4 separate regions of the Homo sapiens genome follow, and all the other regions are linked to region 1. Evidence: promoter capture Hi-C in 16 types of primary human blood cells and fetal thymus (Javierre and others, 2016). All regions are on one chromosome and are shown on one strand. Each heading gives the region's core, a stretch centred on a gene start or on the middle of the fragment in contact. The rest is flanking DNA. Distances are from core to core; before and after follow the strand shown. Region 1 holds the start of GDAP1 (ganglioside induced differentiation associated protein 1). Region 2 has its middle 7.6 kb from the start of TERF1. Region 3 overlaps LOC107986891 (a long non-coding RNA gene). Region 4 overlaps RDH10 (retinol dehydrogenase 10).

What was found. Contacts are between HindIII fragments. The CHiCAGO score rates a contact against its expected background, and 5 or more counts as called.
Region 2: a fragment that was not itself captured here is called in contact with the fragment with the promoter of GDAP1 in region 1 in 2 of 17 cell types (activated CD4 T cells and naive CD8 T cells); the score reaches 6.0 in activated CD4 T cells.
Region 3: a fragment that was not itself captured here is called in contact with the fragment with the promoter of GDAP1 in region 1 in 2 of 17 cell types (naive B cells and total B cells); the score reaches 6.6 in naive B cells.
Region 4: a contact is called between a fragment that was not itself captured here and the fragment with the promoter of GDAP1 in region 1, in 2 of 17 cell types (fetal thymus and naive CD8 T cells). The highest score is 5.2, in fetal thymus.

The regions. Positions count from the first base shown.
Region 1 is chr8:74,347,239-74,354,645 of GRCh38, reverse strand. It overlaps GDAP1 (ganglioside induced differentiation associated protein 1), which reads right to left and starts at 4,243. Exons shown (of 6, transcript NM_018972.4): 1 at 4,068-4,243; 2 at 3,180-3,372. The coding sequence starts at 4,184. RefSeq lists an enhancer at 4,001-4,230. The HindIII fragment of the contact is 8,708 bases long and covers 3,413-7,407 here.
Region 2 is chr8:72,997,546-73,004,952 of GRCh38, reverse strand. No RefSeq gene overlaps it. Among named protein-coding and RNA genes, the nearest start is that of TERF1, 7.6 kb to the left of the region's middle. RefSeq lists enhancers at 57-599, 2,230-2,772, 2,773-3,316, 3,317-3,859, 3,860-4,404 and 2 more. The HindIII fragment of the contact is 2,026 bases long and covers 2,631-4,656 here.
Region 3 is chr8:73,164,126-73,171,532 of GRCh38, reverse strand. The region is part of intron 2 of LOC107986891 (a long non-coding RNA gene); the gene reads left to right. Among named protein-coding and RNA genes, the nearest start is that of SBSPON, 75 kb to the right of the region's middle. The HindIII fragment of the contact is 839 bases long and covers 2,542-3,380 here.
Region 4 is chr8:73,312,673-73,320,079 of GRCh38, reverse strand. RDH10 (retinol dehydrogenase 10) reads right to left here. Exons shown (of 6, transcript NM_172037.5): 3 at 886-984. RDH10-AS1 (RDH10 antisense RNA 1) reads left to right here. Exons shown (of 6, transcript NR_125388.1): 5 at 4,475-4,514; 6 at 6,683-7,407. Among named protein-coding and RNA genes, the nearest start is that of RDH10, 22 kb to the right of the region's middle. The HindIII fragment of the contact is 1,302 bases long and covers 3,799-5,100 here.

The DNA.
Region 1 (7,407 bases), core at 2,994-5,493:
TTTTGGAATGCAGCTGGTTTTTTAAAACAAAAGTCTCATGCCTATTTTCCTCATAGCCATTTTACATTTAGCCTTGTTAAACTTTATCTTATTTTTCCATTTTGTTGTATTTCCATAAGAAATATTTTATAAGCTAGTCATCACTTTGACTATTTACCTTTTCTGTCATTCACAAATGTAATCGTATTTCTTCCATGTCTATTCAAATCATTGATTTGTTAGGCTCAAGTCAAAAAAGAAGCCTACAAGAACATTACAAGGGATCCCTGTACAGGCTAACATCTGTTTCAATAATTTATTCATTTTAATCATTCAAAATATTTATTAAGCACCTATTAAGAAACATTCACTGTATAAGGCATTGGGGATAATTTTTCATAAGATACACTATTCCCAACCTCATGGTACTTACAGTGGTGTACAATTCAAACATTTAAAATAAAGTATAAAAACAATTATAAGTAAAATGAGAGTCTATAGTTGAAGAGGTAATCTGGTATGAGAAATCTATAAAGTAATATTCTTTAATATGGTAGTTTATTCATCTGCAAATGTGCGTTACAATCTTCTAGCTATATTTGCTCCTTTATTCCACAAGGGTATATGTAACGTAATCGCAAATGTTCTACTTAAATCAAGATATACTATATCTAGAACCATGCCTGGCACATAATAGACAGTTTTTTAGAAGTGTTAGGGACATTCTCCAGCAGTGTAAAACTTAAATTGGTTCCTTTCACTGAGATACACAAAAATTTTAACATATTTAAATAACTATTCACAATCTATTCTAAATTTCCACCAGATTTAAAGACAGTAATTTACACCAGTGCTTACTTAACTAAACACTAATTTATAGCAGTATTCTCAAACTTTAATGTACATACGAATCACATGGGGCTCTTGTTAAAACAAAGATTCTAATTTGATAGGTCTGCAGAGAGCTCTAAGGTTCTGCAGTTCTAACAAGCTCCCAGGTGACACCAATGCTGCTGATGAATGGAACATACAATTAGTAGCAAGGGTTGGTAGAATTCACTTTTCCCCGTCTTTGACAATAGGATGTTTGTCTATCTTGTCTGACTTTCATTCTCCATGAGTTCTTAAAGATAAAGCATCTTAATTATAATTGTGATAACGCTGTTTTTAAAATTTCAGTACTCTGAGATAAACTTCTTCTTGACCTCGATTTATATAACTTAGCCTTGATTTATATAAACTATTGTTCTCTTGCTGTCGTCCTATCTACCATAAGTTTTGGGTCCCTTAATCGTTTTTTCGTCCTTCCCAATTGATTGAAAGATATTCAACAAGTTAGTGGCAGCATCAGACTAAAAGCTAGGACTCTTGATTGCTGAGTTACAATAATAGTTCAACCAGAATTAAAGTCTGCACTTTCCATATTTCCATCCTGTCACAGCCTACAGTGCCTTCTCTTCTAATTCTTAAGTAATCAAAAGAACTTAGCATTTCCTTTGTTTGGTTATTTAAATACAACTTAGCAGGACACAGAACTTATTTCTGCTTTGTTACTATTCTGTACTAAAAGCAAAAGAGAAAGACTAAGGAAAATTGTAAGAAAACCTAATAATTGGTAACATTACTATGTTGTAAATATAATTTATATCACTGAATTTCTTAGAGGAAAAACAGTGTAAGGAGGGGATGGAGGAGGGGAATGATGATAGTAGAAGCAGTTCAGGCAATGCTACCAAAAAACTTAAATGGGATTTTCCATTTAGAATACCTTTTTAAAGTTTTTGATCATTTAAAATAGATTTATTAACACAATTATTTTGTTTTGTTCCATTATAATTACATCCCCCAAGAAATACAAATTAACACACTTATCCATTTCCAAAAAGCTCAAGATTGAGAAAAATTCTCTTAAATGAACTAGTTGTCATTTTCAGTACAGTCCCCAGCATATAAATTTATAAGGAATAGCAAATAAAGATGAAAAGAAAGTACATCATTAAATGCTTTGGTTTACGCTAAAGCTACCTTTAATTAAAACCGCCAATCACAATCCTAGGGGACTAGCACTTAGATTAAGAACAGGGGTAGCCCATTGCTAATCTAATTCCCTGGGCTTCCCCCTCGCCACTGCCCACCATCTAGGCCTAATAATACTCATTTTCCTTCTAAGTACATGAGACTTTTTTTTGTCCTAGTAATTTCCTTTGTCAGCTTCCTGTAGTTTGGGGCTAGGTTCTGCTTTCACCTACCCTATTAACATCAACATAACTGGTGGCAGATGAAAAGTAACAATCTCATACAGCCTTTTTAGAAGAGCATTCAGCTGGAAGCTCTGAGCACCATGTTCTGCTCTCATCAATGTCCATTGTGATCAGCTGTGTAGTCTTTGGTAACTCTTTGAAGCTACAGTTCACTTCAAAGGATTATTATTAGGAACAAGCAAGACAATGTGTAAGTGGCAAGGATTATGGGAGACAGTCAGTGTAGTATGAAGGCTTTGGAGACCAAAGACTCTGCCATACAATAGCTATATTACTTTGGGCAACCCTGTTGCTTTCTCCTCATTTACATAATGGGAATAACTTGTCTACCATGCCTGTCTCAGACAGATACTTTTGAAGACATTATTGAAGAAATTATAAAATGTCTGACACATAACAAGCTGTTAATAAATGATTTACCTAAATGCACTATACAAATTTAAGCCCTATAATTCCTTAGTAAAGATATAAAATTCAAACAATTCAGAAGTGACTGGGGCAAAGAACTCAGGTATACTAACATTCTATTCTCCTTTAAGATTTATTGCTCTTTTTTCCCTCTTGTTTTTAAGGTGAAACCATTTGGTATATTAGATGAAATCGTCACAGTGCACATTTAGAATATTATGAATTTAAGACTAAGAAATCACCAACACAAACCACACATTTGCAGTTTTTTGCAAGTGAATTTTTTTAAGTTTCAACATTAACATTTGTATTTTGCATTAAATTATTTTAAATAGCATTACACTAGCCTATACAAAATTTGTTATTGACCTATTTGATATTTGTGTGCTTATGGAAATGGAAAAGGTTTTTAATCCCAAACCACCATCATGACACAAGAGAAAGAGAGAGAGGAGAGAGAGAAAAAGAGAAAGGGAACACATAGTTGTGTTGAAAGTAAATCCAAGAAATCGCAAGTAGCCTTAACATTACCATCCAGGAAAGTCTGTTCAAGATAATCAATGATCTGAGTGGCCTCACAAATTATGTTTTCCCCGTGGATAAGGACAGGCACTTCTCCAGTTGAGTTCAAACGCATAAACCAAGGCTCATTGTGCTCACTCAAGGGCAGACTTACATCATGTTCCTCGCACTTCAATGCCTTTTCAGCAATTACCAAGCGCACCTGGAAGAGTTCACACTGGTTACTACAACACATGTAAGCTTTCAATTAAATGACTTCCCTGGACACCGCTAAGCAGCCTTTCTGGGCTTCCCTGTGTTACCGACATTTTCAACAGTCGTTTTAACAATTCCTATTCCTGGAATTAACAAGTAAGGAAAGAACAATACTCAACAAATTAAGAGAAGAACACAAAATAAGTAATGAAATGATTCTGACTGTATTCATTAAACAGTCACCCTCCTCATCACTACCACTTTCTCGGTGTCCTAAACCTGATTATGGGTCCTCCCCAGACAAGAACCTGACATGTAGGTACATCAGCTCTTGCTGAAGACAGTGAATGCGAGAGAGCAAAAGAAGAGATCGCAGATTATGAGGGTCCACAAAGGCACCTCCCTCTGCCTCTCTCCGAAGACCAGCAGGCAAGGCCTCCAGACCAAATACTGAAAATGATGCTTTTTTGTCGCATTTCGCGAGAGGCGGAGCCTGGGCCATAGCCACATAGGATCATCTCCGATCGATTCTCCCCGCTCCCCACCCGGGCGCGTCCCCGCCTGGAGGGAGCGCCTGCCCGGGGTCAGGACACTGGAGGCGGATTTCTAGGTGGACCGGCTTCCCTGGGCGGGACTCAGAAGGAGCTGTCCCAGTGCTGAAGCCCGATCCGCGCCACCCTCCGCCGCCAAGGCCTGTTGTACCTTTTGAGAGCTGAAGGAATGCGTCCAATGGTACAGAATGAGCTTAACCTCCGCGTCGGCCTTGCCTTCCGCCCTCAAGGGCGGGCTCCCTCTCTGCTCTTCCTGCCTCTCAGCCATCTTGGGGTGCGCGAGCACGGGTGCGCCCAGCCTGTCCGCCCTGGACTTCTCCCTCCCACACTGCCCCGCAAGGCGTTTCCGGGTTTTGAGGGGTACCTGCCGGAAGGAGGGCGCGCGGCCCGCTGGGAAATGTAGTTTCGCCGGCGGCAGAGTCTGCGAACACGCGGGGTCTGCGACTGGAAAGCCCCTGGCAAGCCTGGGAGTGCACCTGGGAGGTGCAATTGAACGGTTGTTTTTTGGGTTTGTTTTTTTTTTTAGAAGAAAAAATAAAAAATATGAGACCCTGGTTATGAAGGGCAGTAAGGAAGAATGATGATAGCAAATTACTCTTCGGTTTGGAGGTTGCTCAGGTATAAAAGCAGCAATTTCCCAAGATACTGAGGGTTGCTCTTGGAGCCTGTTCCTTTGTTGGAAAGGAAGTTCCGGTCGACAAGCAAAGCAACAGGAAAAGGATCTATGAGCTTTCATTAGAAGATGCTACTATGACATTAGTGGACTAATTCCACAAATTTGACTAACTGCTGTAGATTAGAGAATAGTCTTGTATAAACAGTAAGTACTTGATTTTGATAATTAAACTGTGCTTTGTAAAAGAAAAAAAAATACCACTATGGAGTCATGCAAAAAAACTGTTTTTGTCATAAACAGCTAATAAACAATGGCGATATAAAATAGCCTAGTTGTTAAACACAAAAATTCTACAACAGTACTGCCTAAGTTCATATCCTGGTTTTTCCATTTTCTAAGTAAGAATAATAATTTTATTGTTTCCCTCATAAGATTTTTGTGAAAAATTAATAATAAAATGTTAAACACTCAGAACACCCTGTCACGTTGTAGGCACTCAGTCTTAGTCACAGGTTCAGTTGTCTTATAAACATTCTGTTATAACCATAGTCAGAATCATAATTTTATATTAGTCTAGTTATTATTGTATGTCTTTAAAAATTTGGCATCATATAGTAAGTTGATTTTAAAAATCTCTTTCAGTAATATGTATAAATATGACCATAGAATAAATGCCTGTATAATTTATCTGGCAAATATTTATTGAGCACCTACACTGTTCCAGACATTGTGCTGGCTCCTGGTAATATAAAGATGTGTGAAATCTAATATCTAACACTCAAGATATAATCTGGCAGTAGAGACGACCAAGGAAATAGACAATCACAATAAAGATGAGAACTGTCTTAGGGTGAACACAGAGTACTATGAGAAAGGAGGGGCAGGCAGCCAACCCAGGTCAGAGAAGGGCCCCTGGAAAAGACAAAATCTCATGAGGTTCTTCCTTGCCTTTACAGTACTTCATTTGTTACTCTCTGTAATTCTTTCATAATTTTTTAAGATTTCATAATGTCTTTTATATCCTTCAGTTAATTCAAGTGCTATAGAAAAGGTGAATTCCTTGCCAAAATTGTTTTTATCAGTTCACACTTAAGAGTAAGAGCGGAAAGAGGAAAACTTTGAAATCGGACAGAGTGGGGTTTAAATTCTAGCTCTACCCTAACTTGAGCTTTCTTGAGCTTTGACTTCATTGTGTGTAAAAAATGGATACATAAAAATTATATGCCTACCCAGATGGCTGTGGGAATTCAAGAAAGGATATATATAAAGCACCTAGGGTATTGCCTGGAATGTAGCCATTGATAAAAACATATGTGTAAAAGCCCCTTCACTGACATTAGGAGGGCATTATATTACATTTCATCCTCTCTCTGTAGGTCTCAAAATTTTTACAACTACCCATATAATCCTCCTCTCCCATTCCTCTTCAGAACTTCATTTTTTAATTATCCACCTTCAGATTCCTAGTTTTCTATTCCATTACCTTCAATAGCAAACACCACGCTTACTTTTGCACCAACCTTAATACTAAATCATCCTAAATATTTGAATAAATTCCAGTACTCGTGATAAGCCATGTGTCACCTGCAGCTGAAAAAGTCCTGACAATAAAGCCCTGGTCCCTCAAACACAACACTTTTCTCCATCACATCCTGCCCACAGCAAAGCCATAGAAGAAACACTGAATGACTTGATTACTTGGTGTTTAGTACAAAGCATTCATAGATCTCATTGGGAGTGTAAACATGCACAGAACTTCTGAAGGCAAATGTATCAATATGCTTCAAGAATCGTGAAAATGGGCATAACTTCTAACCTAGAAATTCCTCTATTTGCAATTTAAGGAAATAATTCTGACAAATTCTGACAGTTGATCCTACCTATTTTTCCCTTCTTCCGTGGTAATAGAAATTTTAGCTGAGCACATGACTGCTGAGAATAAAGACTGTATTTCCTAGGCTCTATTGCAGCAAAACATGGTCTCCTAACTATCTTCTAACAAGGGGAAAGTCATGGATGTGCCACAGGGCAAGTGCTGGGAATCTTTCTTAAAGAGACAATTAGCCCTGTGCCTCTTCTTCATCCCATCCTCCATCCTGCTTCAGAGAGGATGGATTCTGACCTGGACCATGAAGAATGGGGCCACGCCTTAGGAACAGCTGGGCCATGAACTTGGGGAAAATTGAGCTTCTAAAGACACTGAGGAGCAGAACCCACACCAACTTGGGTCTGCAAACCTCCAAACTTTTACTTGAAAAGGAAAAAAAGGATCTTGTGTAAGGCACTGTTATTTGGTGCTTTCTGGATGCTATTGTCTTAACCTATCCTCATCAATACATCAATCTTGTAAAATATAGGTGGCTTTTATTTCTTTATGATTCTGTATACTCTAATTGTTTTATAATGAATGTGTGTTGCTTTTACCTGTTAAAGGTGTGAACACTAAAAGAATATCATTAAATAGATGACATAAGGAAAAATGTGTTTGTTTTATCACAATAGAACTGCTACATCTACTTCCAATGATCTATAATCACTTTTTTCCCATCCCAATAAAAGCCACTGTTGGTAATATAAAAACCTTATTATCCTTTCACATGTTTATTCAGAGCTCCTACTACACTGTGTATTCTGTGTCTATGGTTTTTGTAGATCATAGACATGATCATTGTGGGCTCCTTGAGGACAGGAGCCAGGTCCAGGTAAATTTGTTTTCAATATACATTTTTTGAGCCTTAAGTGCTAGATAGAGAAGATACAGAGTTCAAAGTCAGTCACAGTCACTGGCCTTAGGGAAATCAAGTGTGAAGGCAGAGAAATGAGATCCCAACACAGTGTGGTACTTGCTGTGACATCTAGAAAGTTATAGTAGGAA
Region 2 (7,407 bases), core at 2,394-4,893, 1.3 Mb after region 1:
ATCTCTAGGCGATTCCAGTATAGAACCAGGGTCGCTAGCTACCAAACCATACAAATAAAATGAACCACTCCATTTCGAGGTAGTGGACATAGTATATAATAATGATAAAGAAGCACACTCCTACTCATGAAGACTTCCTCCCTTTTCAGAATCAATAAGGTAATGCTCAAGGACTGAAGGAATGTTTTGAGTTTAAAGCAAAGCAGGTTTCAGGAAGAGAAACATTATCTTAGGCAGTTCTAATCGTTTAGAGCTTTTAACGTATTTAAAAGATCTTTGTAGCCTCTTGAGACTTTTTTAAGTTGTTTTATGCATTACAGGATCCGTGTGTAGCCTGGGTCTGACAGAATACAGAATACAGGCACTGTGATGGTGCGGGCTCACTCTGCAAGAAAATGCAGTTAGTTGAAAACTGGAACCCAGGACTGACTTTCCATGGTCAGTTTGTTTGATCGTTTTGTTAAAAAAAAAAAAAAAAAAAAACAAGGCAGAGTGCGGTAGCTCATGCCTGTAATCCCAGCGGTTTGAGAGGCCAAGGCGGGCGGATCGCCTGAGGTCGGGAGTTCGAGACCAGCCTGACCAACATGGAGAAACTCTGTCTTTACTAAAAATACAAAATTAGCCAGGCGTGGTGGCGCATGTCTGTAATCCCAGCTACCCGGGAGGCTGAGGCAGGAGAATCGCTTGAACCCAGGAGGCGGAGGTTGAGGTGAGCCGAGATTGCACCATTGCACTCCAGCCTGGGCAACCAGAGTGAAACTCCGTCTCAAAAAAACAAAAAACAGACAAAAAACCTTCTAGTGTATGCCGTTAACAAGTCCCTGATTAGCCACTATTTTTAATAAAACACATCTCCCAAAAGCAAAAGCAATAAAATTGTGTGTGAGTAAAAGAATATGACTACAAACAGCTGGGGACCTAGGGGAAGAATCCCGTTTCCACCCCCTAGAAATAAACCAATGCCCAATAAAACAACGTACCCTGGTGATGTTTTCTACCCTTGAATAGAGAAATAACAGGAAGCGCCTTGACCTTGACAGCCCTAAGAAAGAAAACCATGAACAGCCTCTACTTTTTGAAGCAGCATACGAACCACATATATGTAATTTTTAATTTTCTAGGAGCCACATTAAAAAGCATAGAAAGAAACAGGTGAAGTTAATTTTAATCTTATAAATATATTCCAACTATTATTTCAACATGTAATTTTAAAACTTGGATATTTTACTTAAAAAAACAGTTTTCAAAATCCTGTGTGTATCTTACACTTACACACATCTCAGTTTGGAGTAGCCACATTTCAGGTGCTCAAATAGCCAAGTATGACTGGTAGCTATCATACTGGACAGCACAATCCCATGCAGTTAGGATTTCAGGCTCTGGAGTCAGAGTTCTAGATATGAATTTTTCTTTCTTTCTTTCTCGCTTTCTCTTTCTTTCTTTTTTCTTTTCTTTCTTTCTTTCTCTCTTTCTTTCCCTCCTTCCTCCCTCCCTCCCTCCTTTCCTTCCCCGTCTCCCTCCCTCTCTCCCTCCCTCTCTCTTTCTTCTTTTCTCTTCTCTTTTTTTCTTTTGTTTTCTTTTCTTTCTTGATTAGTCTTGTTCTGTTGCCCAGATTGGAGTGCAGTGGCACCATCTTGGCTCACTGCAAACTCCACCTCCCGGTTCAACTGATTCTTCTGCCTTGGCCTCCCAAGTAGCTGGGATTATAGGGGCCCCCACCACGCCGGGCTAATTTTTGTATTTTTAGTAGAGACAGGGTTTCACCGTGTTGACCATGCTGGTCTCGAACTCCTGACCTCAAGTGATCCTCCTGCCTCAGCCTCCCAAAGTGCTAGGATTACAGGCATGAGCCACCGTGCCCAGCCTAGGTTTGAATTCTTTCTCCACCAATTTCTCTTTACCCTTGAGCAAATCGATTAGACACTTTACTCCTATGTTCTTATTTGTAAGGTAAGAATAACAACACCTACTTTAAAGAGGTGTTTGGTGGTTGAAGGACTCAATGAATAGTTGTGGTTGTTGATAGTCTTATCCAGTGTTATCTTTCCACTATACCAAGTGAAAATCTAACTCATCTGAATGTTTGCATTTAATCTACCTCTTTCACTGAGTAGCTTTGTGTGATTGTGGGGATGATTCTTTACCTCTCTATGCCTCTTTCTTTATCTGTCTCATTGGAAATAATGGTTCCAAACTCAGAGGATTGACATCAGAGTTAAATGGAAAAATACATCCGAAAGTGCTCTGTAAACTGGCAACAGTCATTTTTAAAGTGGAACTAGAGCCATTGATAGATGGCATGATTTGTGACTTAAAAACAATTGGGATTGCAGGGGTGGTTATGTGATTGTGTAAAAACTCAGAATTGTACCCCTAAAATGGTTGGATTTTCCTGCTTGTAGGTTATCCTCAATCTGATTTTTAAGAAAAAACAATTTGGGGGATTCCTGTTTTTAAAAGGTAGAAGTTTTCTTTTCTATGGACTTCTCAGAGCTTTAAATACACTAATGTGGATCATGAATTTCTGAGTGAAACATGTCCCATAATTGATCACTGCACTCCTTTTTTTGCAGAACATCCTATATAATTATCGTACTCCGGGAACCATAGGTTCTTGACCACTGAAAGCTTCACTGAAAAATCACTAATGTAAGGCAGACTGATTAACAGAAGAAAAGGCATACAAATTTATTTAATGTGTGTACATGGGAGCCTTAAGAATGAAGACCCAACATCCTGAGCCACAGTAAAGAATACAGACTCAGAGGGTGGCCAGAAACAGGTTATGTTGATAAATCAGCAGGTGATGAGGGAGAAAGTAACAATCTTGGCTAGCAAAGGTGGCCTTGTTATGTAAATGAAACCTCCCTTGGAGAGAATAGATGGTAAATGTTTCTTTTCAGACTTTTAAAACGGTCAAACACTCAGCCTCTCCTGGATTCAAGAAAGGCATAGAAAGGGGAGGGGGCATGGCGGCATTAATGGAAATTCTCTACAGATGCATATTTTCCCCACAAAAGACAGCTTTGCAAGGCCACTTCTATTTGCTGGCCAGGTGGCAGCCATTTCAAAATATGTCAAAGAAATATATTTTGGGGTAAAATATTTTGATTTCCTTCAATAGCAACAAACACAATTTGAGAAATGCTGCTGTAAACTACCAGGCAAATATATGCAGCTAACAGTTATTAAGTTTATTCCATGATATCTAAAGATTATAGAAGACTCAGATCACTTGACCCATTTGATCATGCCCTCCTCCTGGATGCGTTTTCTTTATTTGACTTACAGGATAACATCCTTTGCTGGTATTCTTCACACCTCACTAGCCACTTCTTAGTATTCCTTGCTGACTATATCTCTTCTTGCTAAACTCTAAATGTTGTAGTGTCCTTAACCTCAGCCTTTGAACTTCATTCCCTAGTTGATCTTATCTATTCTCTCTGTTTAATATCATCTAGATCCTGTTGAGACCCAAACATAAACCTCCCTCTCTAAAATTTCTGCTGAGCACCCCCACATCACTGCTTGGATTTTTGTGCATCTAAATTGACAAGTCCAAATATAACCCATACCCCATCAAACTAGACCACGCTTGTCCAACTCATGGCCTGTGGGTGGCATGCAGCCCAGGACAGCTTTGAGTGCGGCCCAACAAATTCATAAACCTTATTAAAACATATGAGATTATTTTGTGTTTTTTAAAGCTCATCAGCTATTGTTAGTGTTACTGTATTTTATGTGTGGCCCAAGACAATTCTTCTTCCAATGTGGCCCAGGGAAGCAAAATGATTGGACACCACTGAACTAGACCTTACCTCATCTTTCCCATCACAGTCAATGGCACTGCCATTCACTTAGCCAATTAATTGGGCCAAAGACACAAATTTCATCTTTGATTCCTTTTTTTATTTCACACATCAGATCTAGTCCTTCAACAGCTTTGGTCAGCTCTACCTTCAAAATAGATCCATAATCTGACTATTTACCATGATCTGCATCTCCACCCTCAGCCAAGTGACCCTCATGTCTCATATGGCCCACATAGTAGCCTCACAATAGCTCTCCTTGCTTCCACTCTTGCCCTGACATGGTCTTTTTTTTTTTTTTTTTTTTTTTTTTTTTGAGCCAGAGTCTTGCTCTGTCACCCAGGCTGGAGTGCAGTGGCACAGTCTCGGCTCACTACAACCTCTACCTCTTGGGTTCAAGCAATTCTCCTGCCTCAGCCTCCCAAGTAGCTGGGATTACAGGCACCTGCCACCACACCTGGCTAATTTTTGTATTTTTAGTAGAGATGGGGGTTTCACCATGTTGGCCAGGCTGGTCTCGAACTCCTGACCTCAGGTGATCCATCCACCTTGGCCTCCCAAAGTGCTAGGATTATAGGCATGAGCCACTGCACCCAGCGATTTTTTGCACAATAATCTGAATGGCCTTTCTAAAATGTAAATCACAACTTGTCATTCGCCTCCTCAAAACCTACCATGATATGTGATCATTTTTAGAATAAAACCCAAACTCTTTATTAAAGACTACAGGGCCTTACGTGATATTTTCCCTACCTAGTTTTTAACCATATCTATTAAAAATTCTGTCTGTTGCCACCACTGCTATAGCCATTCTGGCCTTCTTGCTATTCCTCAAATAGGTTAAGCTTGTTCCTGTTCCAGGGTCGTTGCACTTGCTTTGACTTGATTGTTTTCTCCAATATTTGTATTGCTCCCTGCCAACCCATTTCATTCAAATGTCACCTTTCTTCAGAGATACTTTCTTTGACTATTTAAATATTTTCTATCTGCAGTACTCTACATAGCATGTTTCACTAACTGATGGTATTTTAGTTTTCTCTTTGTCAGTCTCATTAAAAAACAAGATACGCTAAGGAAGGCATTTTTGTCTGTGTTGTCTACTACCGTATCCCCATGGCTAGAAAACTGCTTATCATGTGGTGGACATTCAGTTGATATTGAATGAATCTGTTACATTTTTCTTAGACATGGCTAGAAGAAAATTGATACTCAAAGAGTAGAAAACATTTTTATCAATGAAATTCCTTATAGATTTGAAAACATCAGCTATTAAGAACTCAATAGTACTCTCAGATTTGCTGTTTATCCACAAAAAACAGAACCTTCAGTTTCTATCTTTGCCCCCTTTCCCAATAGGAGGGCAGACCAAGTCCTCTGAGACAGATACTAATGATGATAATGATAATGATCATATCAACCACACTGTTTTAGTCTAATTGAGCTGCTATAACAAAATGCCACAGACTGGGACATTTATAAACAATAAAAATGTATTGCTCAAAGTTCTGGAGGCTGGAAAGTCTAAGATCAAGGCACTGATTGTTGAGGTGTTGGTGACAGCCTGTTCTGTTTTTCGAAGATGGTATTTTCTTTTTGTGTTTTTAATTGGCAGAAGGGGCAAGGCAGGAGTTCCCTTCGACTTTTTTTTTTTTTCTTTTTTTGAATAGACCAGGGTCTTGCTATGTTTCCTAGGCTGGTCACAAACTCCTGGGCTCGAGTGACCCTACTTCCTCAGCCTCCCCAATTGCTGGGATTATAGAAATGAGCCACTGTACCCAGCCCAACCTCTTTTATAAGGACACTAATTCCATATACAAGGGTGATGTTCTCATGACTTAATCAGTTCCCAAAAGGCTCTAACTCTTTTTTTTTTGGAGACAGAGTCTTGCTCTGTTGCCCAGGCTGGAGTGCAGTGGCATAATCTCAGATCACTGCAAGCTCTGCCTCTCAGGTTCATGCCATTCTCCTGCCTCAGCCTCCCGAGTAGCTGGGACTACAGGTGCCCACCACCACACCCGGCTGATTTGTTTGTATTTTTAGTAGAGATGGGGTTTCACCGTGTTAGCCAGGATTGTCTTGATCTCCTGACCTCGTGATCCACCTGCCTTGGCCTCCCAAAGTGCTGGGATTACAGGCGTGAGCCACAGCACCCAGCCTGCCCTAACTCTTAATATATCATGCTGGATATTCTGTTCCAACATATGAATTTGAGGGTGACACCACAATTCAGACCATACTGCATACTTAGCATTTATTGCATGTATAATAGTTGCCAGCAACTTTCTCTCTCTCTCTCTTTTTTTTTTTTTTTTTTTTTTTTGAGACAGAGTTTCACTCTTGTTGCCCAGGCTGGAGTGCAATGGCGTGATCTCGGCTCACCACAACCTTCACCTCCCGGGTTCAAGGGATTCTCCTGCCTTAGGCTCCCAAGTAGCTGGGATTACAGGCATGTGCCACCACGCCTAGCTAATTTTGTATTCTTAGTAAAGATGGGTTTTCTCCATGTTGGTCAGGCTGGTCTCAAACTCCCAACCTCAGGTGATCCTCCCACCTTGGCCTCCCAAAGTGCCGGGATTACAGGCGTGAGCCACCGCGCCCGGCCAGGTGACAGCAACTTTCTAACTGTACCATATGTATTAACTCATTTAATCTTCATAGCAAGTTTATCAGGTAGATATTACTATTATCTTATAATTTTGTAAAGGATGAACCTGCAGCACAGAGAGGGTTATTAAATCACCTGAGGTTGGAAAGTGAGAAAGCTAGTTAGCAAGTTAGGGACACACAACTTGAAACCAGACACTCAGATTCCACATTTTCACTCACGTCTGTGTGAAGAGACCACCAAACAGGCTTTGTGTGATCAATAAAGGTTTTTAATCACCTGGGTGCAGGCGGGCTGAGTCCAAAAAGAGAGTCAGCGAAGGCAGATAGGGTAGGGCCGTTTTATAAGATTTGGGTAGGTAAAGGAAAATTACAGTCAAAGGGGTGTTGTTCTCTGGTGGGCAGGAGTGGGGGTCACAAGGTGCTCAGTAGGGGAGCTTTTGAGCTAGGATGAGCCAGGAGAAGGAACTTCACAAGATAATGTCATCACTTAAGGCAAGGACTGGCCATTTTCACTTCTTTTGTGGTGGAATGTCATCAGTTAAGGCAAGGACCGGCCATTTTCGCTTCTTTTGTGGTGGAATGTCATCAGTTAAGGCAAGGAACAGGCCATCTGGATGTATACGTGCAGGTCACAGGGGATATGATGGCTTAGCTTGGGCTCAGAGGCCTGACACACATTATTCTCTTTTCTCCCAATAAGGCCTCCCCAAGGGGAGTAGACATTAGCCAGAGTTCATGTTCCTCGTCTCTGTTCCTTACGGCTGGAGATCCATCTCCTCTTTCTGCTAAATACTTAAAGCCAGAAGCTCTCTTGCATATCAACTTTTGTAGATAAGTGCGTGGGTGTATGAAGCAGGGCTGCCAGATCCTCCCATTTAATGACTTAGGATGTCACACACAGCATGATAAATTATTCTTCGTCACAACAGGATTATTTCAGATGGAAAAGGATAATATTTTGTCTTATTTTAGAGAAGGTTCACGATCCAGA
Region 3 (7,407 bases), core at 1,712-4,211, 1.2 Mb after region 1:
GGAAGTGTAGAATTTGGAATTGTCAGAATATTAGTGTAGACAGAGACTGTGAGGGTGGACGTCATTATGGACTCTGATGAAAATGTGAACCATTGAGTTGTTTCCAAATATTTGGCTGTTTGGTATCTCATAGATCTGACTGCATTTTCCCCCTTTTCATCAGAAGTTAATATCATATAGAAAACTTCAGTGAGTAACAGTAGAACTGAGCAAAAGATCCAGTGTTTCCAGGATTCTTTTGTTCTGTTTTTTCTTGTGCCCAAAGTCCCATGCACCTTTTATACTCAATGTTCTTCCCAAGGTAAATCAAAGACTGGTGTGGAGGGAAAAGCCTTGAGATTTCAACCAGATTGTTGGCAGATTCTACATAAAACTCTACCTCCAGTGCCCAAGTAACGCTCTGGCTTTTTGCAGAACTGGAGAGAACATGTTTTGCTGGCAGGTGAAGAAAGGGAGGGCCTCAAGCTTGCATTTATTTTAAAACTGTGTAAATGTTTAAAATATGATATGTAAACTTGCCGTCAGACCACTTTTCACTTTAAGCACCCTTGACAGTTAACCATTAGGTTTCTCGGGGGTGGAGGAAGCTCTCTGGGTGTTCTTTGGGAGAAGACAGCAAAAAGGCTGCTTTCTAGGTGGTACAAGTTTTGCCATCTGCTTTTGGCTTTGGCAAAACAAAGGAATTGAAGGCACTGTGCCAGCACGTGGGTGAAATTGAATAGAAGAGGCCTTGTTCCTCCAAGGTCAGAGCTTTTACTGTGGTGACAAATAACTCCCAAATCTGTTTCCCAAGAGCAAATCCTCATGTCTCCATCACAACACTCAAGAGCAGCAGATGGACTACAGCTCTGTTCCAGGCTGTGGGCCAATTCTGGGTCTCCTTTTCACATCTTCTCGAATCTTCTTGTTCTGGAACAAAGGCTGCAGGAGCAGCATGCAGCCATGGCAGAGAGCAGCAGTGCAAGAGGCGGAGCCACGGCACATGCATTCACTTCAGGTTGCTGCTCAGGCGAGCCTGCGTCATGGCCCCCCGTATCCTACTGGCCAAAGCAAGTCTCACAGACAACCCCATAGTTGTTGGAGGCAGGGATGTGATATGAGGAAGGAGGAAGGCGATGCTTGAGCATAGCTGTTCTGTCTGCCACCATTAGTCATTCATTCGTTCATTCATTCATCAAATATTTCTTGAGTGCTAACTCTGTGCTAGCACTGTATCAGAAATTGATCTATAGAAGTAGACCGATCTGCCTCCTGCCCTTGGGGAGCTTGCAATCTAGTATGGGACACAAATAATAGAACCAGCAATTATAATGAAGGCTGAGCCCAGTTCCAGATTCCAGATCCCTTAAAAGGGTAGTGGAGCAACATAGCACTGAATGACCACCATGAACTTTTAGGGATAAATCACTCCAGAATGTTATCATACCAAGGCCTGTAAACTTCTCTAGAACCTCTTGGTGTGTTTCTATTCACCCGTGGCCTTGGACCTGATGGCTATGTAAGAACACATGTAAAAGATAAGTGTGAATGAATCAACGTTTTTCCACTGATGGGATGGAAGATGGGGAGGGGTGGTGGAAGGCTTCTGTTCTTGAAAAGTCTACTCAGGTCACTAGTGGCCTCCTGGGACTATTTATGGCCTTGTTTGCTGAAATAATGTCAAGTCTAGCATGTTACCTGCCTTGATATCTTTTATCCCACTTGCCATCTGCAAACCCAGACCCACCTGCCTTCCTAGTCTGCTCATGTCCTGAATCAGTAAGGACTTAAACAGATTCAGCTCTGTTTTCGGGGGCTGAGGATCCAGTTACTGTTGGGTACTTGCCTCCTTGACTGGCTGCCCCAGCCTTGAAAACTGGATTCCTGCTGCATCCCTAAGCTTTCTTTATAACTTCTCAAACTCTGCCACACTGTTCTGACCCATCCTTCCCAGGCTTCCACCCAGTGATTCCCTGTATATCTGTTTGATCCCCAGTTCCAGGGTTAATAACTGCCAGCACTCATTCAACATCTTTACAGAGTGGTATCTCTCACAAAGCTCCTCCCTGTGGGTTCCACTTCTCCTGTGGCCCGCTTGATCTCGGGACCAGGAGACAGACAGAGTGTTCTCCTTACATCCCAGTGTGGCCTCCTATACCCTGGTGACACACTTTGCTCCTTTGCAAGGAGAAATTCTTGGTTACATTTGTGTGGATGGCTTCACTGGTCTTCAGGGAAGCCCCTGGCAAAGGGTAGCTGCTGCTCTGCTCCACACTCACTGCTTGGTGCAACCAAACTACTGAGAAGGTATTGAGGAGTGGGTTCATGCATACGATGTGCAGACGGTGGCCAGGGAGGGGATGGCTTTGAAGTAGGGCAGACCAAGGATTTCCTCCGTGACTCGTTCACCTTTTCCATGAGTTCTTACACAGACATCGGGTCCAAGGACATGGGTGAATAGAAACACATCCAGAGTTCTGGAGAAGTTTGTACAGGGCTCACCGAGGCTGAAAGCAAGCCAGCCAAGTGGGGAAGCAACTCAAGTGCCCTGTCTGCAAAGCTTTACTGAGATTTATTTGGAAAGTTATGGTCTCTCCCACAACGAATCTGTAGATTGCCTTGCTCTGATTACAAGAAGAACGTTGAGGTCTTCATTAACAGTCATCATCAGATTCCTTCTCTCCTTAAGGAGATTAATTAGGTAAATTTCATTACAGTAACATCAAGTTTCTTGGAAAGAAACCATTCAACTTGAGAATGACTTTGCGTTTATATCTGGAAACAAAGCAATGTGAGTGTTTACAGTGAAGAACATGAAACGTTAGGTTTTAATAGATGTTGATGTCATTCTTGGCCTCCTGCAAATGATATAAATGACTCTGTGAAGAGGTAACACATTGTTAAATGTAACCAAAATGCGAAGAAAGAAGTGAAATGTACACACATGACGTTCAGCCCTGCCTCCCACTTCCCTCCCCTGACTTCGCCATCTGAGCTGAACCAGAAAACCACTTCCCTCCCCTGCCTTCACCATCTGAGCTGAACCAGAAAACGGCAGCTGACATGCCCCATCTGTCAGATGTCAAAGAGAGAGATGGAGGACTCTCTCTCGTCCTGTTTAGTGGGCTGATGGTCTAGAATTTCCAAAGGGGAGCCCAAATGGCCAAGGAAAGAGAGGCCAGGTTCAGACCTGGCTCTGCCACGACTTGTCTGACCTTGGACCAATCACCCCCTCTCTGGGCCTCAGTTTCCCCACATATGAGCTGAGAAGTCTGAACTCACAGGCTTCCAGCAATCATCATAAAACTGCTGAGAGAATAACTTTCCCACCATTTGGGTAGATTGTACAATATGCAGCCATTTGACAACTACCCTTTCAGCCCCAAGGGAATATAGAAGCTTTTTTTTTTGGTTTTGAGATGGAGTCTCATTCTGTCACCCAGGCTGGAGTGCACTGGTGCGATCTTGGCTCACTACAACCTCGCTTCTCTAGTTCAAGTGATTCTCCTGCCTCGGCCTCTGAGTAGCTGGGATTACAGGCACACACAACCACGCCTGGCTAATTTTTGTATTTTTAGTAGAGATGGGGTTTCACCATGTTGGCCAGGCTGGTCTCAAACTCCTGGCCTCAGGTGATCCACCTACCTCAGCCTCCCAAAGTGCTGGGATTACAGGTGTGAGCCACCGTGCACAGCCAGAATATGGAAGCTTTGAGTCTGAGTCCTTGAACCTGCCCAGGTGGCCAATCTGTGGCTGACCTCAGTGACAGTCCAGGGCTAGGACAGTGTTGAAACTCTGCCGCTCTGCTCCACACTCACTGCTTGGTGCAACCACAGTTGTTGAGGAGGTATTGAGGAGTGGGTTCATGCACACATGGGCCCGTGGTGGCCAGGGAGGGCATGGCTTTGAAATACGGCAGACCACGAGTTTCCTTAATGACTTGTTCACATTTATCTTCTCCATGAGTTCTTACATAAACATCAGGTCCAAGGCCACAGGTGAACAGAAACACATCCAGGGTTCTGGAGGAGTTCTGTCAGCTCAGAGACAGACTGTGTCAAAGCTTGCTCTTAGGACCTGCTGCCCCCACCCCGCTCTGTCCTCCATTGGTTTTGCCAGTTTTCAGAGTGTCACCCTATGTGACTCATTCTCACACCATTGCCAGGTGGGCAGGGCAAGTGTTACGTAGCATTGCTAAATGGAGCTCAAGTGTGTTAAGGAAATTGAAATTTAGACACAGCATACAATTTCTTCCATAATGCTGGGGAGAGGGGCGTCTCTCTGTGATCTCTCAGTACCCCTAAAGCCATTCTGCACAGCAGCTTTGGATGATTGGATGACTTTGGGAAGAGTTAGGCAAGGTCCAGAGTGATCTGTATATCTGATTTCCCCTAATAATTAATTAGTTAGTTTGTTCTTCTGTGGAGGCTTTAGGACCTGGCTAAGCTTTTAGTCGTCCTCTAGATCAGGGGTCACTAACCCCCAGGCCATGGACTGGTACTGGTCTGTGTGTGGCCTGTTAGGAACTGGGCCACACAGCAGGTGAGCAGTGGGTGAGTGAGCATTACTGCCTGAACTCCACCTCTTGTCAGATCAGCAGTGGCATTAGATTCCCACAGGAGCATGAACTGTATTGTGAACTGCACATGTGAGGGATCTAGGTTGTGTGCTCCTTATGAGAATCTAATGCCTGATGATCTGAGATGGAACAGTTTCATCCTGAAACAATCTCCCCTGTGTCTGTAGAAAAATTGTCTTCCATGAAACCAGTCCCTGGTGCCAAAAACGTTGGGGACCACTGCTCTAGGCCCCCACGTGACCTGAGTGCTAAACTGGACTTTCTATTTAAGACGTTAGAGGGTCTGTCTCTGAGGTTCCTCCTCCACCGTTTCTGACCTAAAATGTGTATGGATGGAACACGAATAATCAGAGACATGCTAGGACTCCACGGGCCTCCGAACAGATTTGCCTGGGCCTGGAGAGTCCAGGAGATACCCGCAGGCTCTAAGGCATTTGGACCTTCCAAGGAAGCAGGGATGTTGGGCATTTTTGCACTGACTACACACGCCCTCAAAATACTGTGCTCTGTTCTGGACTCAACAACTTATGAGTGACAGGAAAAAGTAAGATGAAAACTCAGAGGTAAGCCACAAAGATGAAAAAGTAGATTGGTAGATGTTATTTTTGCATGAAGATGGAAAAACTAGGAAGAGGCCATTTTGGAGAGAAAAAGTCAAGGGGAAGTTCGGGAATAATCTTCAAACACGTAAAGTTTATTTTACAAAAACAGGAGGCCATTGCTGTCCACGGAGAAGGGAACGAAGAGAGACGTGCATGCACTCTTGGCTGGGCGGATTCAATTAGCAAGAGGAAAACTGTCTTGCCAGCTAGAATGAGTGTCTGAAAGTTGTAAAATGACCTTCTCTGGCACCCTCCTAAGCAGGGTGGATTCTCCTCTTGCTAGTGAGTTTACGAGTTGAAGTCCCTGACAGTAGCAAAAGGGCTAGATCAGACATCCCATTAGCACTCACCCCAGTGGTTGTAATTTTTCACTGAAGACCAAATAAAATCTTTAGATTTGTAGAAAATGGCATCAAGAGAGCAAGAACATTAGAGAAAAAGGAAAATATTTGAACTGTCAGCTCCAGGAATTGTAAGCACAAGAGCTGGGATGCAGGGCCAGTGCCCTGGAACATGTAAAAGCCCAGCTTTGCTTCCCTCAACTATTTCTCAAACTGTTTACAAGATGGAATTAGCTATTCTTCCAAGCTTCCAGAATTCTGTGATTGTGAGTGCTTTTTACTTAAACATTTTTTAAAAATTTTTTTATTTTTATTTTTGAATTTTCATAATTTGGTGACAGAAATTGTTTCATTTTTATTTTTTGGAGACGGAAGTCTTGCTATGTTGCCCTGGCTGGTCTCAAACTCCTGGCCTCAAGCAATCCTCCCACCTTGGCCTCTCAAGTGGCTGGGCCTGCAGGCGTGCACCACCACACTTGGCTATGAGTGCTTTTTAAAAAGAATGGTTTGAATTTGTTTATATAAGCTACATAGGAATGACTCATTGTCCAGTCCATTGGCCACTCTGGAAGTGAAAAAAGAAGAAATAAGACTGTTTCGGTATTGAAGACCTAAACCAACAGTGAGGCTTGACTTTGCTGCGAGTTGCTTGATTTTCATGTGTGTGCATGTGTAAATAATAGCTGGTACCACTCTGAGCTGTGTTTCTCATTGTAGGGTTGGCTCTTAGTACTCTTGCGATGTAAGTCACAGCAATGTGCTGTGCTGAAACGGACAATGGACTCCATCACTATGAAACGGACAATGGACTGTCTCCATCACTAGGAACTGTGTGATCTTGGGCAAAGCCACCTAACTTGCAGAGTTCTGGTTTGCCTATCTCTAAGATGAAGTCTTTAGAATAGACTAGTGTTTCCTAAATGTCAGGCAATTGTCATTAAAGTCACATGTTTACCTTCCAACTACTACCTGTACTTTTATATTAATATTTTCTTTACATTAACTCATTTTAAAATTAGATAAATATACTTAAAAGGTAATTTTGTATCTTATTACACAAGGAATGCTACACTACTTGCCATAAGTAGAAAATAAATGCAAAGTAAACACAATGAAAATAAAACAATGTTATTAAATTCTAGCTAGTAACTGCTGCTTGCCAAAGACTGAGCCTGAGGCCTGTGCTCTCTCTTTACTAAAAGGAGATTCAGAAGTGTTAGAAACATATTAAAGATATATTAGTCCCCCCTCCAAAAAAAAAAAAGATATATTAGTCCCAAACTGATACTTTCTCTTTGACATAATCATGAGGGTTGAAAGGAACTTACAAGGCTGGCTAAATCTTTTTTAAGAAAACTTTTGTTTTGAAGTGATTTCAAATTTAGGGAAATTCGTAAGGACAATACAAAAGAACTCCTGTAGATCTTTTAGTCAGATTTACTAGTTACTAGTTCTGGCCATATTTGTTTATCATCCTCTTTTTTTTTTTTTGAGACGGAGTTTTGCTCTGTGGCTGAGGCTGGAGTGTAGTCACACAATCTTGGCTCACTGCAACCTCTGCCTCCTGGGTTCAAGCGATTCTCTTGCCTCAGCCTCCTGAGTGTCTGGGACTACAGGCATGCGCTACCACACCTGTCTAATTTTTTTTTTTTGTATTTTTAGTAGAGACAGGTTTCACCATGTTGGTCAGGCTGGTCTCGAACTCCTGACCTTAAAGGCTCTGCCCGCCTAGGCCTCCCAAAGTGCTGGGATTACTGGCATGAGCCACCACACTTGGCCCTCTTTCTTTCTGGATATATACTTGTAATTTATTTCTGAACTTTTAAGCAGGCTGCATATACTATACCTTTAATAACTCAATATGTGTTTCCTAATAACAAGGATATCCTCTTTTATAACCACAGCG
Region 4 (7,407 bases), core at 3,200-5,699, 1.0 Mb after region 1:
AGAACTTAACCTAAAGGCACAGAATATAGAAAAAAAGTTATTGTCCATGGCCCAACTTCAGAAATGGAATCCCTTGATATAGGTGCTATTTAAATAATGTGTCCTTTTGCATATTTGCATGGAGTGATGTTTTCAGTTTTACAGGCATGCAGAGGACAAACAGGATAGAACAACATATATACTCATACTTTATAATCTGAATATCGTGAAGAACAGGGTTTGATGAAATCCAGTTCTACAATTCTACAAACTTACAATGCAGGATACCTGACCGCCTCATCTGATGGGCTAATTAATACAAGATAGCTCAGTTTTGGCAAGGTGACCACAACCGAATGTGAACCTCTGGCCTCATTCTTCTGTTCCCCACAGCTTTCCATGGTTCCATTCTTGGCCCTGTGCCTCCTGCCATCGTCAAGTGAAGCTGCTAATGAAAATGGGCACACTGAGGGCTGGCCCATCTACTTTTCTTGTCGCTGCTGCTTTGTCAAACTAGTGTAAGAGATTTTATGGCAGAAGAGGCAGAAGTCCATTCCCTTTCTTTGTTTTGTTTTAGAGACAGGGTCTTGCTCTATCTCCCAGGCTGAAGTGCAGTGGTGCCACCATAGCTCACTGCAGTCTTGAACACCTGGGCTCGCACGATTCTCCCACCTCAGCCTCTCAAGTAGCTAGGACTACAGGTGTGCGCCACCACACCTGACATAGAATTCCATTCCAGTGGCTGGCCCTGGGTTCCTGTGGAACATTCTACATGCAGCACACATGCAGAGTGCCTTCGTGCAGCTTTCATGAATGGAGGGGCAGCAGGTGCTCTCCTGGAGGTTCTGGTGTACTTATCACAGGATAAACAGATTGAACGAAAGAAATGCTATATATCTGACAAACCTCAACTCCGGCAGTACTGAACAATCCCAAGGAACTTGCAACTGTCACAATATGACCATGATTAATCTCCAGCATCGTAGGAAGAAAAGCCTTAGTGGTCTGAAACAAAGTAAGATTCAAGTTTTAGAACTGATTTCATGAATTTCATCTAAAACCCAGTCCAGGATCACAAAACAAACTTTTATTCACATGATGTTTTGTTTCCCAATTCCTTTAAAAATATTTTATATTTATCAAAAAGATCTTTTAAGTGTCTGGCTAACTTAGCACTGTATCATCGGCATGGCAGGCCTATTATAAGTCGTGACCAACAAGACTGTAACTTAAAAGCTTTTGGGGACAGTGTCTAGAGATAAAAAGAGAGCCATTGGCAGAAGCTTCTTAATTACCTTTCAAGTGACAGTTATCTGCTAATTTAAAGTACTCCCAAGCCAGGTATTTGTTTCTGCTCGTGACACTTCAATGCAGCTATCTCATGGTTTAGGAGGGACCACAGCCTACTACAAACATTGCCTTGTATTAATGTGTGCCTTACGGCGATGTCTACGTAGTAATAGACCTATCAATGAAGAGATACTCCAGCAGCATGCTCTGGGATCCCAAGGCTTATTACCAAAATGTACTAGCAGGAGACAAAGTATTTTAGGATGTAAAAAACAGGCTAAATTATAGAACTATTTTTGTGAAAAACATATCATAATGCCAACTATGCACTGACAAGAACGTGTATCATTCTGAACAGTCACATTCCAACATGGGTTTCACCGCAGGGACTCTGCCACAGATGCAAGTGACTGGCCACACAGTGAGGCAGAGAGTGTGGCACAAGTTCCAGGCTGGGGGACCCAGAGGCCCTGAAACTTGTGCCAGAGGTGGCACAAAATCAGAGGTGGCGCCGATTTCTTACTCACTAAACTCTTTTCTCTCTAGCTCGCTTGCCTTCAAAATGCAAGGCTGTATCAAAAAAAAAAAAATTACTTCAAATTGCTTACGATGATCTATTAACTACTCCACCAGGCTCCCAACAGTTTTATAACCTGCTTCTTAAAAGAAAGCAGCGAAGAGCAATCTGTCTACTGCTGAGTTATCTCCTACTGCCAGCACAGCTTCCCATGATTTATGAAGTTAAAAAAACCCACACAACCAAACACTACAAAGCAGACTTAAGGAAGAGCTGCATTCCCTTCTCAGAGGATTTGCTGGCTACGGTATCACTGAGTTTTTGCATGAATACCTAATATGGGTTTGTGGTTTTTTTTTTTTGGGCGGGGGTGGGGGACAGGGTTTTGCGGTGTTGCCCAGGTTGGAGTGCAATGGCATAATCATAGCTCACTGCAGCCTCGAACTCCTGGGCTCAAGTGATCCTTCTGCCTCAGCCTGCCGAGTAGCTGGGACTACAGGCGCACGTCACCATGCCCAGCTAATTTTTAATTTTTTGTAGAGAAGGGGTCTCATTATGTTGCCCAGGCCAGTCTTGAACTCCTGGGCTCAAGTGATCCTCCCATCTCGGCCTCCTAAAGTGCTGGGATTACAGGCGTGAGCCACTGCCCTTGGCCTTATCTAATTTGTTATAATTTTTGTGTGTAAAGATTGAAAACAGCAATTCCCTTAATTCTGATGTTTTTCTGTGCTCCCACCAATTATTCATACAGGTGCCACATGAATTTTTGTGAAGTATCCCAAGGTCTTCCCCAGTCATCATGTAGTACCCCACTCCCAACTCACACCCTGTTTGAGTTTCCTCATCAGTACCCATGAAATGCTTATTCTCACCTGTGGCATTTGACCCATGAACTCTTCTGATAATCTATCCCAGACCCTTCGTGTGTAAATCAAAGTGTAATATTCATCACATATTTATATAGTCTCTCATGCTTTTCAAAGCGCTTTATGTCACTGGAGCCCCCTAATAATTCTTTACTGAAGGTAGTTAGGGTGTTAAACCTTTATCTAATATTATTCTAGGCCAGCCTGACTTTGTCTACATTTCTCTAAGACCTATAGTCAGTACCATTTACCTTAATGCGATTATGTGTTTTATAGTGCTTTGATTTTGATTGTCTTATACTTATTTGTCTGACTGTCCCAGACTAAGCTGGAAGACCCAGATCAATCTTCCAAATATTAAGGGAGAATTACCTTGCTACACTGAGACAGGCACTGTGGAGGAGAGCTAGTGATACGGTTTGGATCTGTGCCCCCACCCAAATCTCAGGTCAACTATAATCCTCAATGTCAGAGGTATGGCCTGGTGGGAGGTGACTGGATCATGGGAGTGATTTTTCATGTATGGTTCAGCACCATCTCCTGGTGCTGCTCTAGTGATGAGTGAGTTCTTGCGAGATCGGGTTGTTTAAACGTGTGCAGCCCCCACCCCCTCGCTTCCTCCTGCTTCTGCCGTGTTTATTGCTGCACCCTCTTTGCCTTCTACCATGACTGAAAGCTCCCTGAGTCTTCCCCAGAAATGGAGTAGAAGCCTCTATGCTTCCTGTACAGCCTGCAGAACCGTGAGCCAATTAGACTTCTTTTCTTTGTAAATTACCCAGTCTCACGTATTTCTGTATGGCAGTATGAGAACAGACTAATACAGCAAGTGAACACACTTCTCATTACTGCATTGCCCAAGTACACTGCTGAGGAAGAGAGACACATGTTTCAGCTTGATTGTATTTCTTTGTAGTAGTAAAAACAGAAAGAGTAATTATGACAGTAATTATTATTTTGATCTGTTACCAGAAAAAGTCAAAAACTGGTACTTCAGGTTATTATGGGTTCAACTTTAGGCTCTATAATTTATACATGGGTATTATATCACAGAATTGAAATAAAGTAACATCACAATGGAATTTATATATTCCAATCTAAACTAGAAAACAGCTGGGCACAGTGGCTCACACTTGTAATCCCCAAGCTTTGGGGGAGGTTAAGGCGGGAGGATCACTTGAGCCCAGGAGTTCAAGACCACCCTAGGAAACACTGTGAAACGCTGCCTCTACAAAAAATACAAAAAATTAGCCGGGCATAGTGGTGTGTGCCTGTAGTCTCAACTACTTGGGAGGCTGGGGTAGACAGATCGCTTGAGCCCAGGAGGTCGAGGCTACAGTGAGCCGTGATTGTGTTATGGCACCCCAGCCTAGGCGACAGAGCGAGACCCTGCCTCAAACAACTAGAAAACATATCCCTAAGTAATCAAGCCTATATGTCTTTTAAAAGTATCTAGTTATGATTAATTGTTCCCAGATTAGCCAAAAAGTATAAAACATATTATTGACGTTAACCAGAGATCATTTTTAAGTTTTGAAAATTTGCCTAGTCTTGGAAGACAGCAATAAACTTAACATAAAGGGTCTTAGTTATCTTTCTGTATAAAAGTTAAAGTATAAGGACTCAATATTAAATCCTAAGAAATTACATCCAATATCAAATTCCTATCAGAACCTGCTACTTGGTTACCTGACAAATCTGAATCACTCACTCACGTGTCCACTCTAACTCCAGCCAGCGGCTGGCTCTGACTAGAAACTCAGACACCATAGCAGGTTGGCTGTAATGACTTCCCTGTATTCACGTGCTCTGGTCTTGCCTGCAGGTATTAAATGACTAATCCAGATCCCCAGCACCACATCAAGGTAGGTGACAGAAGATTAACAAGTTCCTAACTGTTCTTTAAGTGTAATTTGTTGCAACGTTCTGAAACTGATTAATATCCCCTCCCCTTCTTGCCCTGAAATGAATCTGGTGGTATTAAATTAAATAAAATAGTTCCAGTTTGTCCATAAGGAGGGTAGTATGGCTGCATATTCTAAAAAATGTGACGTGGGGACACACTTCCACCTGTGGGACCCTCCCCCCACCCCCAAATTGTCTGAAGAGGAGTTAAGCTAGTGGTTTAAAGGAAAAGGAAGCAAAAAAGGGCGAGGGGGAGAGAGAGAGGAGGCCGGTGGGGGGAGAGAGAGAGAGAGGAGGCCGGTGGGGGGAGAGAGAGAGAGAGGAGGCCGGTGGGGGGAGAGAGAGAGAGAGGAGGCCGGTGGGGGGAGAGAGAGAGAGAGGAGGCCGGTGGGGAGAGGAAGGGAGAGAGAAAGAGAAACCAAACAATCCAGATATGGCTATGTGAAAAAAATCTTTTCCAACTGTGGGCTATAAACATTTGGAGAAATATATTCCAATTTTAAAGAGTAAAGTACGACACATGCTGGCTGGTTGTAATATGAAGCTTTCTTTTGAGAGGGAGATTATTTGTTTTGTTCTGTAAAGCACAGGTGAGTCAATGTTCAGTTTAAAACATGTGATTTCTTTGCCTAATCAAGGACAAATCTGGCCTTCTGTATAAATTAAATCCAATGTATCTTTGCATTTTCCACATTTTTAAGACAAAGATCCATATTTTTTATTTGAAAGGCTCATTAATTACAGGCAACACTGCAATTACTATAACAATCACTCACAGCGTCAACAACCACCAAAGAGCTGCGCGGAGGGAACTGAGAGGTGAAGAAAGCTATCCAGGGCCGCTAATCAGCCTGAGATCCCAGACGGCTTGTTTCTAAAGCTGGTGTCAAACATTTACTCAGCTCTGCTCTGTGTCGGGCAAAGGCAGGCTTGGGGTAGGAGCACCCACATCAGGACCACTCGGGTTTCTTTTAAGCCTGTGCTCAGGTTCCCGCTGGAGCCCAGTACACGTGACTGAGCACGAAGGCTGTTAATCATTTCCTTTGCTGCCTGAATAGAGGCGAGCAATTACTCCAAACTCCTGCCTTATGTCTGGGGCGCATTATTAAATAAACTTTGATCAACATGAATTCTATTCCATACTTTGCAAGAAAAATGCTATAGTTGGGTGACTAGAAAGCATCACATTTTCAGGAATTTTCCCAAGTAACCTGACTAGTTTTCTTTTCTAATTACTCTTGCCCTCAACAGTCTGGTAGATGACATTTGAGATAGCACAGCATATTCTGTCCTTGACACTGCTTGACAGCACAAAGAAATCTGGCACTTTGCAATGAATTATTAATGTGCACAAATATTGTAGCATGTATGAGATAGAGACCAGCAAAAGGTGAAGTGCTAGTTGCCATGACACCAGTCAGTTCAAGCTAAGGTTCATAATCTTTAACTTTGTCTCAAAGAGTCGTCAGAAGAACATAAAGGGCAAATCTGAAACACACAGCCAAACGGCTTTGGTATAGATTAATGCCTGTGACGCATGGGTGGATCTGAGAGGGCAGCACAGATAATTTGCTGACCAATAGGACTGCTGTGTTACATCAAGTATAAGGATGGATAGATCAGGAGTTATCATCTAGTAAAGGGGTCTCTAAATGCAGTACATGTGCTCAGTCTCCAGAGTGAGCTGGTGCCCATGCTGGTTGGCAAGGTTTGCTAGATGCTAAATGTAAGTCAGAGAATTGCACTCTATTGCAGTGTCCTCTTTACTGTCTAAAAAACAGAAGAGGACATCAAGTTCTTCAGCAGGAAAATATGGTTGACTCTTGATCTAGGGGGTCTCAAAGTCAGTAACCAATATATGAAACAGGAAGTTTACAGAATTTAGAGTTGGAAGGGGCCTAGGGATTTTCTTATTTGCAAAAGAGAAAACTTTTAATAACTGACTTTGGCTATTAAATGTAGAGCTAGAACTTTGACTACCATGATTAATTTGATCACAAGATTCCAATACCATATTCTGCTACCAGCTGACAGGGTTGCTGTGTGATTAAAAAAAAAAAGGGAAGGACATTCAAATGGACACTGACATTCCTATGAAACATGCTTAACAAGTCTAATATCTCCTTAGCTCCTCAGGGTTCCTCTTCAAAGCACTGGGCACTTTGAAAGATAACTGTAAAGGTCACATTTGTAATATAAGCAAGAACTTCTTAAACAGACATGTAAGTAACTGCACATAGACGTGACATGTCATAGCTCGAGAAATCTTTTAAAGTAAAGTTTACGCCAAATTAACTTCCAACAGCTCCGACTCTCCAGACCATTCTTGGTACTCTTAATGACAGACTGTGCAGCCCAAAGCCTGCAGCTGCAGTGTCAGGACAAATTAGCCTAAAGTGGAACAAAAGTCAATGTGAAGAAATGTGGTATCCGGCAAGGTCTGACTTTTGAAATTCTGAGATTGATGACATTTTAAAGGTGTAGGTACAACAGAATGTGTTTTCCATATTTGTAAGCAATTCTAGGTTCCTGAGCACTGAGAGAAAAGCAAAGTTAATTTCTCACCGTAGGAGAAGGCCTTATTATTTTTGTGCACATACACGACTGTCCTGTGATCAAGAAAAGGCATCTTTTAAAAGAATCGTTTTGAAATGTTTATCTCTTATTTGAAATCCAAGAAAGAGTAGACATTCATTTCCAAACAGGACCATAAATCATATAACGCTGGGAGAAAGGTCAACACCACCAGCACAGCACAGTTTTCTCACATATGCTTAAGGATTTTCAGAATCTCCAAATAATAGCATGATGTAAACTTTGAATAAAAAAGAACACCATCAAGACTCCACTGAA